3 separate regions of the Homo sapiens genome follow, and all the other regions are linked to region 2. The links are contacts of gene promoters, found by promoter capture Hi-C in blood cells and fetal thymus (Javierre and others, 2016). All regions are on one chromosome and are shown on one strand. The core of a region is centred on a gene start or on the middle of the fragment in contact, and the rest is flanking DNA. Distances in the headings are between cores, read along the strand shown.

Evidence for each region. Contacts are between HindIII fragments. The CHiCAGO score rates a contact against its expected background, and 5 or more counts as called.
Region 1: a contact is called between a fragment that was not itself captured here and the fragment with the promoter of NVL in region 2, in 7 of 17 cell types (total B cells, naive B cells, naive CD8 T cells and 4 more). The highest score is 12.4, in total B cells.
Region 3: a contact is called between a fragment that was not itself captured here and the fragment with the promoter of NVL in region 2, in 7 of 17 cell types (naive B cells, total B cells, total CD4 T cells and 4 more). The highest score is 9.5, in naive B cells.

The regions. Positions count from the first base shown.
Region 1 is chr1:223,811,859-223,815,950 of GRCh38, reverse strand. It overlaps TP53BP2 (tumor protein p53 binding protein 2), which reads left to right. Exons shown (of 18, transcript NM_001031685.3): 3 at 1,598-1,711. Among named protein-coding and RNA genes, the nearest start is that of TP53BP2, 32 kb to the left of the region's middle. The HindIII fragment of the contact is 789 bases long and covers 962-1,750 here.
Region 2 is chr1:224,328,654-224,332,337 of GRCh38, reverse strand. NVL (nuclear VCP like) reads left to right here and starts at 2,166. Exons shown (of 23, transcript NM_002533.4): 1 at 2,166-2,267. The coding sequence starts at 2,211. RefSeq lists enhancers at 1,949-2,098, 2,119-2,168, 2,359-2,408, 2,459-2,598. The HindIII fragment of the contact is 14,633 bases long and covers 1-3,684 here.
Region 3 is chr1:223,794,119-223,798,305 of GRCh38, reverse strand. TP53BP2 (tumor protein p53 binding protein 2) reads left to right here. Exons shown (of 18, transcript NM_001031685.3): 12 at 1-91; 13 at 1,716-2,491. Among named protein-coding and RNA genes, the nearest start is that of TP53BP2, 50 kb to the left of the region's middle. The HindIII fragment of the contact is 1,135 bases long and covers 2,041-3,175 here.

The DNA of each region.
Region 1 (4,092 bases), core at 107-2,606, 520 kb after region 2:
GTACTTACACAAATCTAGATGGTATAGCCTACTACACACCTAGGCTATATGGTATACAGCCTTTTGCTCCTAGGCTACAAACCTGTACAGCATGTTACTGTATTGAATACTGTAGGCAGTTGTAACACAGTGGTACATATTTGTGTATCTAAACATAGGAAAAGGTACAGTAAAAATATGGCCTTAAAATCTTATGGGACCACTGTCAACATGCAGTGCATGACCGTAGGTGTGGCTGGCACATGAGTGTTAGTAGGGAGCTTTGAGAGCCTTTAAGTGTCTGTTTCAGCTTATGCAGGCCTATGCCTGATCTTTTGCCATCACAGGGCCATCGGGATGTTAGCCTAGAGCTTGTGAGAAGTCCATATCTTTCTGGGGCAGTCCAGCGTGGACAGCAAGCTACTTTACTTCCTTTGAGTTCTCTCTTTGCTCCTGGAACCTGGAGATTTTACTTGTTTTGAGTACAGCATGTGTGTGTGTATTTTGTAGGGGTGGGTGGAAGGGCTACTCAGAATTTCTTTTGGAGGTGTTTCTCTCTAACTGTGGTGTATCCTTTTTGGGGGAGGTCTTAGAATATGTGTGGTTTATAAAAGGGGATTATCTATGTCAACTCAGTATGTTATGTTACTGGAAGTAGAACCAGAACTGCATTTTGTTGCAGCCAAGCAGATTAAGTTCAGGGTTGGTTCACCAAATTGGCTGGTGAATGCTTGCCTGCTCTGTTCTCTGCCCATGTTTATTTAAGGTGTTAAGATAGTGTCCTTGATTACTGATAAATGTGTTGAGTTTTCTTAGGGTATTTCAACATTCTTATATTTAAAAATCATGTTGACATTACTGGAGTTTCATTGATTTTAAGCAATTGCCTCCTCAAACAGTGTGTCTCGTTTTTATATCCAGATCCCTTGAGATTGGAAGATTTTTTTAGGACAGCTTGAGATATATTGTTTCTCCTGAAGCTTCTATTTTTACTAGGTATTTAGGTGTGCCCTTCTTTTTGTTTCCAGAAAAATTCTGACACTGGTATTCTCACTGGAAGAGGGGCAAATATAGATACATTTTACAGCAGTAAATAGACTTTTATTTGGAAATGGATGGGTCTGATTTTTTTAAATATTGTTTGTAAAATTATAATTTAAAAATAGCCTGTATTGAAAACTACAATTAAAAAAAAAAGACTAGGCTATTTAGAAAGTTGCTTTTTAATATTTTCTTTGTATATTCGGAGAATCATGAATATTAGTGTTAGAAGGGACTATGTGATCTAATATAGATTTTACAGAAACTTTTGGAACCACAGAAGTTAAATGGTGCACCTGTGGCCAGCGTGGAGCCCACTGGATTTAGACTGCTGAGCTCCTGACAGCTGGCTGAGATGCATTGCCTTTTGTAGTATTCCACCCTGGCTTGACTCTGTGTGTGTGGAAAATCTGTGTGACTTCAGTTTCTAAGACGTGTTTTAATGAAAAAAATTTACCTGAGATACTAAGCATTTGTTGTATCCATAATGTATAATTTGCATGAAGGATAGATGGTGAATGATATATTTATCTTTCTTTTACCTGAAAATAATGTGGTTTCTACTCATTTGCTTTAGAACGTCCAGTTGCGGATAATGAGCGAATGTTTGATGTTCTTCAACGATTTGGAAGTCAGAGGAACGAAGTTCGCTTCTTCCTTCGTCATGAACGCCCCCCTGGCAGGGACATTGGTAGGTAGTGCTCTGTGAATCGTGACAGATATTTAAGCTTTTATTTTGTGCTGGGAGTAGTAGGTGGCACATGATGAGAAGCCAGGTAATTTGAGAGGTGAAGGAGAGGTTAGGAAGTGGAAACAGTGGAGATAGGCTGTCGAGGGGAGAAGTTTGACTATAGTTGTTTAATGCAGGTGGGAAGGAGTCATTAGAGCAGGGGGTTGAAACTATAAGAAAGGAAATACTTGTTAGGCAGGGTCCCTGATTAGGTCCTTCCACAGCCCTGAGGCAGAAAGTCCTCTTAGACAAGAGGAAGGATCCCTCTTCCATAATAACAGGACAGAAATAAAACTGTGGCAGATGTGGCTAAATTTGTGCATTTTGTGGGAGTAAGTTGAGGGATTTCTCATCTAAAAACATTTGTTTTCTCTGAGGTAGGAGTGATGATGGAGGTGGGTGGGAAGCTGGAGCTGTTTTGGAGATTAGGAGAGAGGGCTTACTAGGGAAGCCAGACTGCTGGGAACCATTGAGGCCAGTTGAGATTAGAGACCATGAGACCATACATGATTTTTCTCCAGTGGTGGTCTACAGCCCAGGTGGGTTGTAAGAAGAGAAGAAAACAAAGGTGTCTAGACAAATTTTTCTAGGCAATTGTCTAGAAAACCCAAGGTTTCTAGACAAATTCAATGGGAGTTCAGTGGGACAGGGGAGAAGAGGGTATTGGCAAGGTGATACCTTAGCTGGGTGGGGAAGAAGTGAAGACAGGAGGGGCTGTGGGGAAAGAGTAGACAGAGTTAAGAGGCTGTGAGTCTCAGTTAGATGAAAGAACAGGTGTGAGAGGAAATGAGTGAGACGCCTGAGATTGAAAGGAAATAGTGGTCAAAAAACAGAAGGTTTGAATTGAAAATTTCGGAGGTAGAGGGCTTCTAGTGTTGTGGTCCCAGGTGGGGCCCTGAAATGAGGCTGAATTAGAGTGGAGACGAGAAAGCTAGAACTGAGAGGCTAGCATTTGGGCGGTAATGTCATCCAGAATGAAGGCAGGACTTGGAGGTGGAGAGAACAAGGGAGTCAGTTGGTCACATCGTTAGTGACCAGGGATTGTGACCAGAGTTTATAGATGACTGTAGGGGGAGGGTGGAGAGAGAGTGTGGGTGGGAAGCAGCAGTAGACACTGGGGACACAGCCATCCCTGTGACCCAGCAGTCTTGTAGGATGTGGGAGAACGAGCAGGGTTATTGGACATTACAAAAGCTCAGTTTTGGCTGAGCGCGGTGGCTCATGCCTGTAATCCCAGCACTTTGGGAGGCTGAGGTGGGTAGATCACCTTAGATCAGGAGTTTGAGACCAGCCTGGCCAACATGACGAAACTCTGTCTCTACTAAAAATACAAAAATTAGGCCGGGTATGGTGGCTCACGCCTGTAATCCCAGCACTTTGGGAGGACGAGGCGGGAGGATCACGAAGTCAGGAGATCGAGACAGACCATCCTGGCCAACATGGTGAAACCCTGTCTCTACTAAAAATACAAAAATTAGCTGGGCATGGTGGCATGTGCCTGTGATCCCAGCTACTCGGGAGGCTGAGGCGGGAGAATCGCTTGAATCAGGGAGTTGGCGGTTGCAGTGAGCCGAGATGGCACCACGCACTGCAGCCTGGCGACACAGCAAGACTCATCTGAAAAAACGAAAACAACAACAACAACAACAACAAAAAACAAAAATTAGCTGGGCGTCTGTAATCCCAGCTACTTGGGAGGCTGAAGTGGAAGAATCGCTTGAACCCGGGAGGCGGATGTTGCAGTGAGCCGAGATCACACCATTTGCACTCCAGCCTGGGCGACAGAGCGAGACTCCGTCTCCAAAAAAAAAGTTCAGTTTTATTAACTAACTGTTGCATTAACGCAAGTGTCTATATGGTACCTGACCATTAGGAATGATTAAATTTATAGTACGGGTTAGCTGAGGGGCAGAATTGACTTAGTTTGGCCCCTTCTACCCTACAGATGAGAAATGCTGATACTTAGGGGTTAAGTGACTTGTCAGAGGCCACACACCTAGAGGCAGAGCCAGGAGTGGAACCTGAATCACCTCAGCCAAGCTACCTGGTTGCCTTTCAGTATCACTGGTGTCTGTAATTTTATTTTAAGTAAACATGTATTTTTTTCCGTAGGCTTTTTTCTTTTTTTTTTTGTAGTTTTATATTGGCATTTGCATCTTATTTTTTTTTTTGTTCTCTATTTACATCACATGCACTCATCTAATTAGTTGAATTTTACCCATTCATCTACCTGTTCAAATATCTTGCTGTATAGTACTGGATAAATTATTAAATAGTCTCTCAATAGTGCAATATGCAGTTTCAGTGTCAGTAATGTGAGAAATATAATCTGAAGATAAAGG
Region 2 (3,684 bases), core at 917-3,416:
CACCATGCCTGGCCTCAGTGTGTTTTCATTCTATGTTGGACATTTGGCATGCACAGAATTACATTTCATTTTAAAAATTACTGAGCATTGACTACATTTGTACTATATGCTGTAGGGAATCTTTGCTAACATTTAATCAAGCACATAAATACCTAATCAAATTTTTTAAATGTTATAAAAAGTTAGTTATAATTCTTCCACTTTTCCCCACAAGCCTAAAGCGCAGAGCAGAGACTGAAACTGGTAGGCACTCAATAAACACTTGTTGAATGAATGCAAGAAGGCTGGAAAGTCCAATATCAAGGAGTTGTTATTTGGTGAGGGCCTTCTTGCTGTGTCATCCCATGGCAAAAGGCAGAATGGCAACAAAAGAGCCAAATTTTATTCAGCCTTAAAAGTGAAGGAAAGGCCAGGTGCGGTGGCTTATACCTGTAATCCCAGCACTTTGGGAGGCCAAGGCAGGTGGATCACCTCAGGTCAGGAGTTGGAGATCAGCCTGGCCAACATGGCAAAACGCCATTTCTACTAAAAATACAAAAAATTAGCCGGGTGTGGTGGTACACACCTGTAGTCCCAACTACTTGGGAGGCTGAGGTGGTAGAATCTCTTGAACCCAGGAGGCGAAGGTTGCAGTGAGCTGAGATTGCGCCACTGCACTCCAGCCTGGGCAACAGAGCAAGACTCTGTATCAAAAAAAAAAAAAAAAAAAAAAGAAAAGAAAGAAGGAAATTCTAACACATGCTATATGAGGGCATTAAGCTAAGAAACAAGCCAGTCACAAAAGTCAAATACTGGAAGATTCCACTTATATGAGGAAGTTAGTGTAGTCAAAATCATAAAGACAGTAAGTAGAATGGTAGTTGCCAGGGGCTGGGGGGAGGGAGGAATGGGGAGTTATTTTTTAATTAGTATAGAGTTTTAGTTGTACAAGATGAAAAGAGTTCTGGAACTAGATGGCAGTGATGGTTGCATATTATGAATGTATTATCACTAAACTGCACACTTTAAAATGTTTAAGATGGTGAATGTTCTTATATTTTACAACTAAAAAAATAAAAAATAAAACTACACATAGTGAAGAAGTAGGAAATGAAGTTGCAACCAAACGGATCAATATTTTGAGTGGGAAATCTAATACTTAATTCAGTGCTAATTTTTATATTTTTAGTAGAGACAAGGTTTCACCATGTTGGCCAGGCTGGTCGTGAACTCCTGACCTCAAGTGATCTGCCCGCCTCGGCCTCCCAAAGTGCTGGGATTACAGGTGTGAGCCACCGTGCCCGGCCTCACGCCCTTCTCTTAATTCCATTTTCTCTCCCCTCTGCCCCTTAATACACTGCACTTAACCTTGTCATAAGCCAAGGAGGACCTGAAATAAGAATACTCAAAACACGGTTGAAATAAACAAGAAGACAGAAACTAAAGCCAGCATTTTTTTTTTAATGCTTGGTAACTGTCCCTTTGTGTCTCCCTAAGTGCAGGATAAACTTCTTGGGGCAAATACAAACGTTTGATAAAATTCTGGGCCAAGGAGTCCTGCACTGGATATATTCAACAAATTACCTGCCGATGATAACAGCGTAAGTCAAACGAGTTCTAAAAGTAACAAATGACTTAGTTATCTGGATAAATCCGTCCTTCCTTTTCTTTTTCACCTAGCCCTTTTGTCGGGCCTCTAAAATGTAAGATAACTACGTGGGAAAGCAAGCAGCGGCTGGTGGTGTGTTTTTACCCTGATTTTATCACTCCAAGTATCTACCGTGGCTGGTTTTGCGAAGACTAGCTTTGTATCAGAATGAGGTGTGGCTGGAACGCCTGAGGAAAGCAAACCAAGTTTTCCAGAGGACGCCGTTGACAGCGTCTCCGCACACCGCGCCGGGGTAGGAACTTCCTCCCACCTGGTTCGCCCGGCGGGGAACCAATAAAGTTGAGCGCGTTCAAAGGGGTCCTAATCTTCCAGGGTCCACTGGGCAGGCCTGCAAAATAAGGCCCCTAGAAACTCCCTGAGGTTTTCAAGTCTTCTCCCTCTCCTCGGAATTTTTTCCCCTTCATTCGCATTACTTTTATTCTGACGGAAACGGCGCGGGCTAGGCCCCAGGAGGGGCGCATTTCAGGTGCAACTGGCCCGGCGATCGCGGCGGGCAACCCCTACGAGGCCCCCGGTTGACTAGGAGCTGGCGGTCCGAGCTGTGGCTTGGAAGACCGACGCGATGAAGCCCAGACCTGCAGGGTTCGTGGATAATAAACTCAAGCAGCGAGTCATCCAGGTGTGTATTCTGCACCGCTTGGCCTCGCCAAGGGCCCCGATCGCTGCCCCAGGGTGCCACTCCCCTTTTGTCGGGTGGCATCCAGGTGGAACTCAACTAGTCTTCTTTCCCCAGTCTGGGTCTGGGCGTGCGTCTGTTTCTCCTTAGTTGGTGCTGCCGGGGCCTTCCCTACCCACGTTGGTGCGGAGTCTCAGGGAGAAGCCGGGGATGGTGGGAGGGTGCAGCTTGGTAGGGCTGCCCAAGTTGTCTGGTCGTCTTCAGCGCAGATCATTCAGTAGAGTGGAGGTAGCCTTTGAATTTTAACCTCTTTGGCTTGTGAAGTTAGCACAGGAATGGTCTTCAAACGCTCGCATTGTAAGAGGTCCTTGAGAAGGGGTGGCATAAATAATATGTTAATTTCCGTTCTCAAGGAACTTACACACTAAAACGAGATAACATGGGTCTGGCAACAGTAACAGGCACTTTGCCTACGGTTTTCTCATTTTCATGACCATCAGTAAAAAGCAGTGTGTGGCAAATACCTCAGAATGTAAGCAAGCAGTCTGAGTTAAAAGGTGGGAGAGAATTTTCTTCACTTAGGAATTTGTGAGCTACACATTCTCCTTGTTTTTCTTTCACTTCACCAGCCCCTAAACAATCTCCTTTTCGGACCCATCTTTTCCTACCAACTTGTAAATGTTGGAAGTGCTCTGTGCCACTGTTCTCTTACCTCCCCTTCCTCCTCTTTCCTCATACACCTTTCTTATCTATCCATACTTCCTATGTGATCTCATTTAGTGTAATAACCTTTGAGTAGTATCTACATACTCTATTATCTATGTATTTATTTCATTTTATTTTTATTTTTCTGAGACATAGTCTCGCTCTGTTGCCCAGGCTAGAGTGCAGTGGCTGTTTATGGGCACAATCATAACTCACTGCACCCTCGGCCTCCCTGACTCAAGTGATCCTCCCTCCTCAGCCTCCCCAGTAGCTGGGACTACAGGTGTGCACCACCACACCTGGCTAATTTATTATTATTATTATTATTTGTAGAGACGGGGTTCCACTATGTTACTCTGGCTGGTCTCTAACTCCTGGGCTCAAGCGATCGGGCCTCAGCCTCCCAAAGTGCTGGGATTACCGGTGCAAGCTGCTGCACTGGCCTCTGTATATTTATGACTGCTAACTTTATATCTCCAGTCCAGATTTTATCTTGAAGTACAGATTGATATATCCAGCTGCCTAGTCAGCATATCTCCAAATTAAAATGGCCAAGTGGAATTTGTGATTTTTTTCTTCCTTCAAATCTGCCCTTTCTTAGTGTTCTGTATCTCAGTAAATGATACTACCGTTCGTCCTGTTGTTAAGGCCAAAAACCTTAAGGATCATTCTGAGTCTTTCATTTCCTGTATACCATCTGTCAACAGCCTGGTTG
Region 3 (4,187 bases), core at 1,359-3,858, 530 kb after region 2:
ACGCAACAGCAGGCGCCAGGAAAAAACTTCCAGCAGGCTGTGCAGAGCGCGTTGACCAAGACTCATACCAGAGGGCCACACTTTTCAAGTGGTAAGGTTCTTAACGTTCATAGGTGACGTGCTTAAGTTCTATACCAGAACTTAAGCCATCCCTCAGCAGACAGCAAAATAACTAATCCCTATTTTGACTGACGCTAAGGGTTTTTAACTGTGGCTTCTGTTCTTTACTGGGAGTTTAAAAGAGTGCTTGCTAAATGTCTGCTCCTACAGTAGTAGGCACTAAAGATAATAGATGAATAAAGTGTGGTCTCAAGTCTGGAGGGGCTTATCGGTGAGGGAGAACCAAATATAATGGGTCATTACAGTGCAGAAGGAAGGTGTGTGTCTTCACTGTAGGTTGACCAGATGTTCTTGTCATATAGAGGACTGGACCACTGCCCCTGTCTGTGTGTGTGTGTGTATATACATATAGAGAGACATATATACGTAGACATGTATATATAGATATATATACACACACACACATCACACACATATATATATGTGTGTCTCTGTATGTGTGTGTCTGTGTCTATATGTCTTTATATATAACTGTGGCTGGGCGCAGTGGCTCACGCCTGTAATCCCAGCACTTTGGGAGGCCAAGGTGGGCGGGTCACCTGAGGTTGGGAGTTCGAGACCAGCCTGACCAACATGGAGAAGCCCCACCTCTACCAAAATACAAAATTAGCTGGACGTGGTGGTACATGCCTGTAATCCCAGCTACTCAGGAGACTGAGGCAGGAGAATTGCTTGAACCTGGGAGGCGGAGGTTGCAGTGAGCCGAGATGGTGCACTCCAGCCTGGGCAACAAGAGTGAAACTCCATCTAAAAAAAAAAACATACATACGTACATATATATATATATTCTCTACTGTATTTTAAGTCATTGTAATGGGGACATAGCCGCTAGCTAAATGTAAAAACAGAAGGTTAGCTTGTATTAAACATACACAGTTTGGAAATTTGTTGGGTTCTTTCTAAATTATTACTTCATAGGACTAGAATAAAACTTACCATGTTTTAATTGAATGAAAATAGCTTTGTAGTCATGAAATAACCATGTAATTGTGACCTAAGATGCCATAATTAAAATTAGCAAAGAATCAGTATATATGCTACCTCTTACTCTTCTTTTCATGGGTCTTTAGTGAAAATGGAATAATTTGGGAATTAGATAATTTTAATATAATCAGAATGTTAACAGGGAATATCTTTGGTAACTATAAGTGGTTCTTAATAATTTTATAAGCCAAATAGAAGTTCTCACGTTGATTCACTTTTGAAAAGTGAAAGATGGGATAGTACATGTTTAGTTTTAATCTGGACACATGAGGATTATCTGTTTTCATTGCATCTAAATGTTTTTCACATTTTGTTATTTTAAATTTGGATGCTACAGTGATTTCTTAAAACGGCAACATTTTCTTATTGTTTCATGAGATATGGTGCATGTTACAATCAGTGGGGGTTTTGATTCTGTAATAAGTTTATTATGCAAAGATGGATTCCCTGCTTTGTCATTTATTTTTAAAAATTAATTATATTTGAAGGGGATTATGTAGTAACAACTATGAAATTAAAAGAGGCTTTAGTTATTGTTAGCTGTTTCTGTTTCTTGCCAGTTTTGTTTAATTAATGCTAATGAGGGCTTTTTTTTTTCCTTTTCCAATTAGTATATGGTAAGCCTGTAATTGCTGCTGCCCAGAATCAACAGCAGCACCCAGAGAACATTTATTCCAATAGCCAGGGCAAGCCTGGCAGTCCAGAACCTGAAACAGAGCCTGTTTCTTCAGTTCAGGAGAACCATGAAAACGAAAGAATTCCTCGGCCACTCAGCCCAACTAAATTACTGCCTTTCTTATCTAATCCTTACCGAAACCAGAGTGATGCTGACCTAGAAGCCTTACGAAAGAAACTGTCTAACGCACCAAGGCCTCTAAAGAAACGTAGTTCTATTACAGAGCCAGAGGGTCCTAATGGGCCAAATATTCAGAAGCTTTTATATCAGAGGACCACCATAGCGGCCATGGAGACCATCTCTGTCCCATCATACCCATCCAAGTCAGCTTCTGTGACTGCCAGCTCAGAAAGCCCAGTAGAAATCCAGAATCCATATTTACATGTGGAGCCCGAAAAGGAGGTGGTCTCTCTGGTTCCTGAATCATTGTCCCCAGAGGATGTGGGGAATGCCAGTACAGAGAACAGTGACATGCCAGCTCCTTCTCCAGGCCTTGATTATGAGCCTGAGGGAGTCCCAGACAACAGCCCAAATCTCCAGAATAACCCAGAAGAACCAAATCCAGAGGCTCCACATGTGCTTGATGTGTACCTGGAGGAGTACCCTCCATACCCACCCCCACCATACCCATCTGGGGAGCCTGAAGGGCCCGGAGAAGACTCGGTGAGCATGCGCCCGCCTGAAATCACCGGGCAGGTCTCTCTGCCTCCTGTAAGTAATGTACTATCTCATAGCCTTTTCCGGAGTCCTTTACTTTGTTACGATTTTCTTGGTGGTCACATTCATCTTCTCCAGTTTGCATTTTTATTTTACGATTCCCTTGGCACAGAGTGGATCTTATAAATGTTTTCATAATGCAGTTTATTCAATATAAAGAACATTTTTCTGTTTTAGAGAGAACCCATTTATTTGTGAAAGAAACAGAGTTTTGTTCTTATCCCTATAAACACTGCATTTGCTGTTTCTTCTCTAGCTGATGTGACATATTAGGGAAGCAGCACCCGACTGGGACTCAAAAGACCTGGGTTTGAAACTTTTGATTACTAGCTTAGCTGTGTGAAATCAGGCAGATGGTATAACTTCTCTCATTGATGATGTCAATCTTTTTAAAAATTTTCTAGCAGTGAAATTTTAAAAAATGAAATGTTAGGTGAAACCTCAAACTTACAACAGTGGTAAAATTGGAAGGGTTCTGGATGGAGTGAGGGCAGGGAGGGGTAACTGGGCTGAGGGGCCCCTCTTCAGCCTCTTCCTCCCCTTCAACGAAGTCTGAAAATCTCTGGCTAATATGGTGATCCCTAAGATTTCTTTGTACTTTAACATACGAAAGTTATTCTAAGATTTTGTATGTTTTGGCTTGAGTGCACCTTCTACACTCCTTCCAGATAGTAAGCTTTTGTTTGAAATTTAAGCTTCCATCCTCTCACTTTGACATAGGTGAGAGAAAATAAAAATCCCAGAATGTCTGAATGAAGTCTGCTTTTTCATAGTTTAATTTGAAGCCACTTTGCTTCAGTAAGCACGGAAGGAAGTAGGATGCTGAACTATGAATTTAAAACCTGGTGAAAAGCAAAATAGCATTAAAAGAATTTTTTTAAATGTACTTTGCATGTTTGATTCCTTATTATCTTTTAGATATGATAGTATTCAAAGATAATAATTGTCCACAGTTATTTTTAACAATTGGTTACAGTAAATGTTTGCTTAAAAGTTTTATGTACTAAACATTTGAAGCTAGAAAAAAAAGTTTTAAAATAGAGGTTAACAGTTTTTAAACAACCCTGTGCCTCGTAAGTTCTGAGGCTTGATTCTCTTTGAGTTTTAAACATAAGAAAAGAAGGACGTTTTATTCCACATTGGCCAAAACCAATCCACGTTACAGCCACTTGTTATTTTCTGGCCTTTTTGTTGCTGTGTCAAAATAATCCACATTTTCAAGGAGAAAAAAGGAAAACTAGAATTGGTAAAAGTATTATACTTTCTTTTTAAGATTCTGCTGTTCTCTTCCTAGGAAGGTGTCTTACCTTTTCCTTCTCGATTTAAGTAAAATAGAAGCAACTATCTCGTACATTCTTTAACAGTGGGATCGGCAAGTGTCATTACACTGTACTGCTTATGACTTGTATTAACCACAGTCAGATAACATTCAGAGAGCAACATTTTAGTCATTGCACATTGTGAAATGTATTGTCGCTTAATGTTTTTTAAAACTTGGCAATTTTCCACATCTGAGATAAAATGAAAGAATTATGTGGAGTACATATATCACACCTCACAACAGTAAACGTCTCTACTTTGTTGGGTGTGTTTAAGAAACCTGTTTTACAGGATACTGGATCTAGTCTTTAAAATTTTGCCTTTTTTTTTTTAAGTCCGATTCATTAAAAGTTTAAGCTGGTAGGATTTA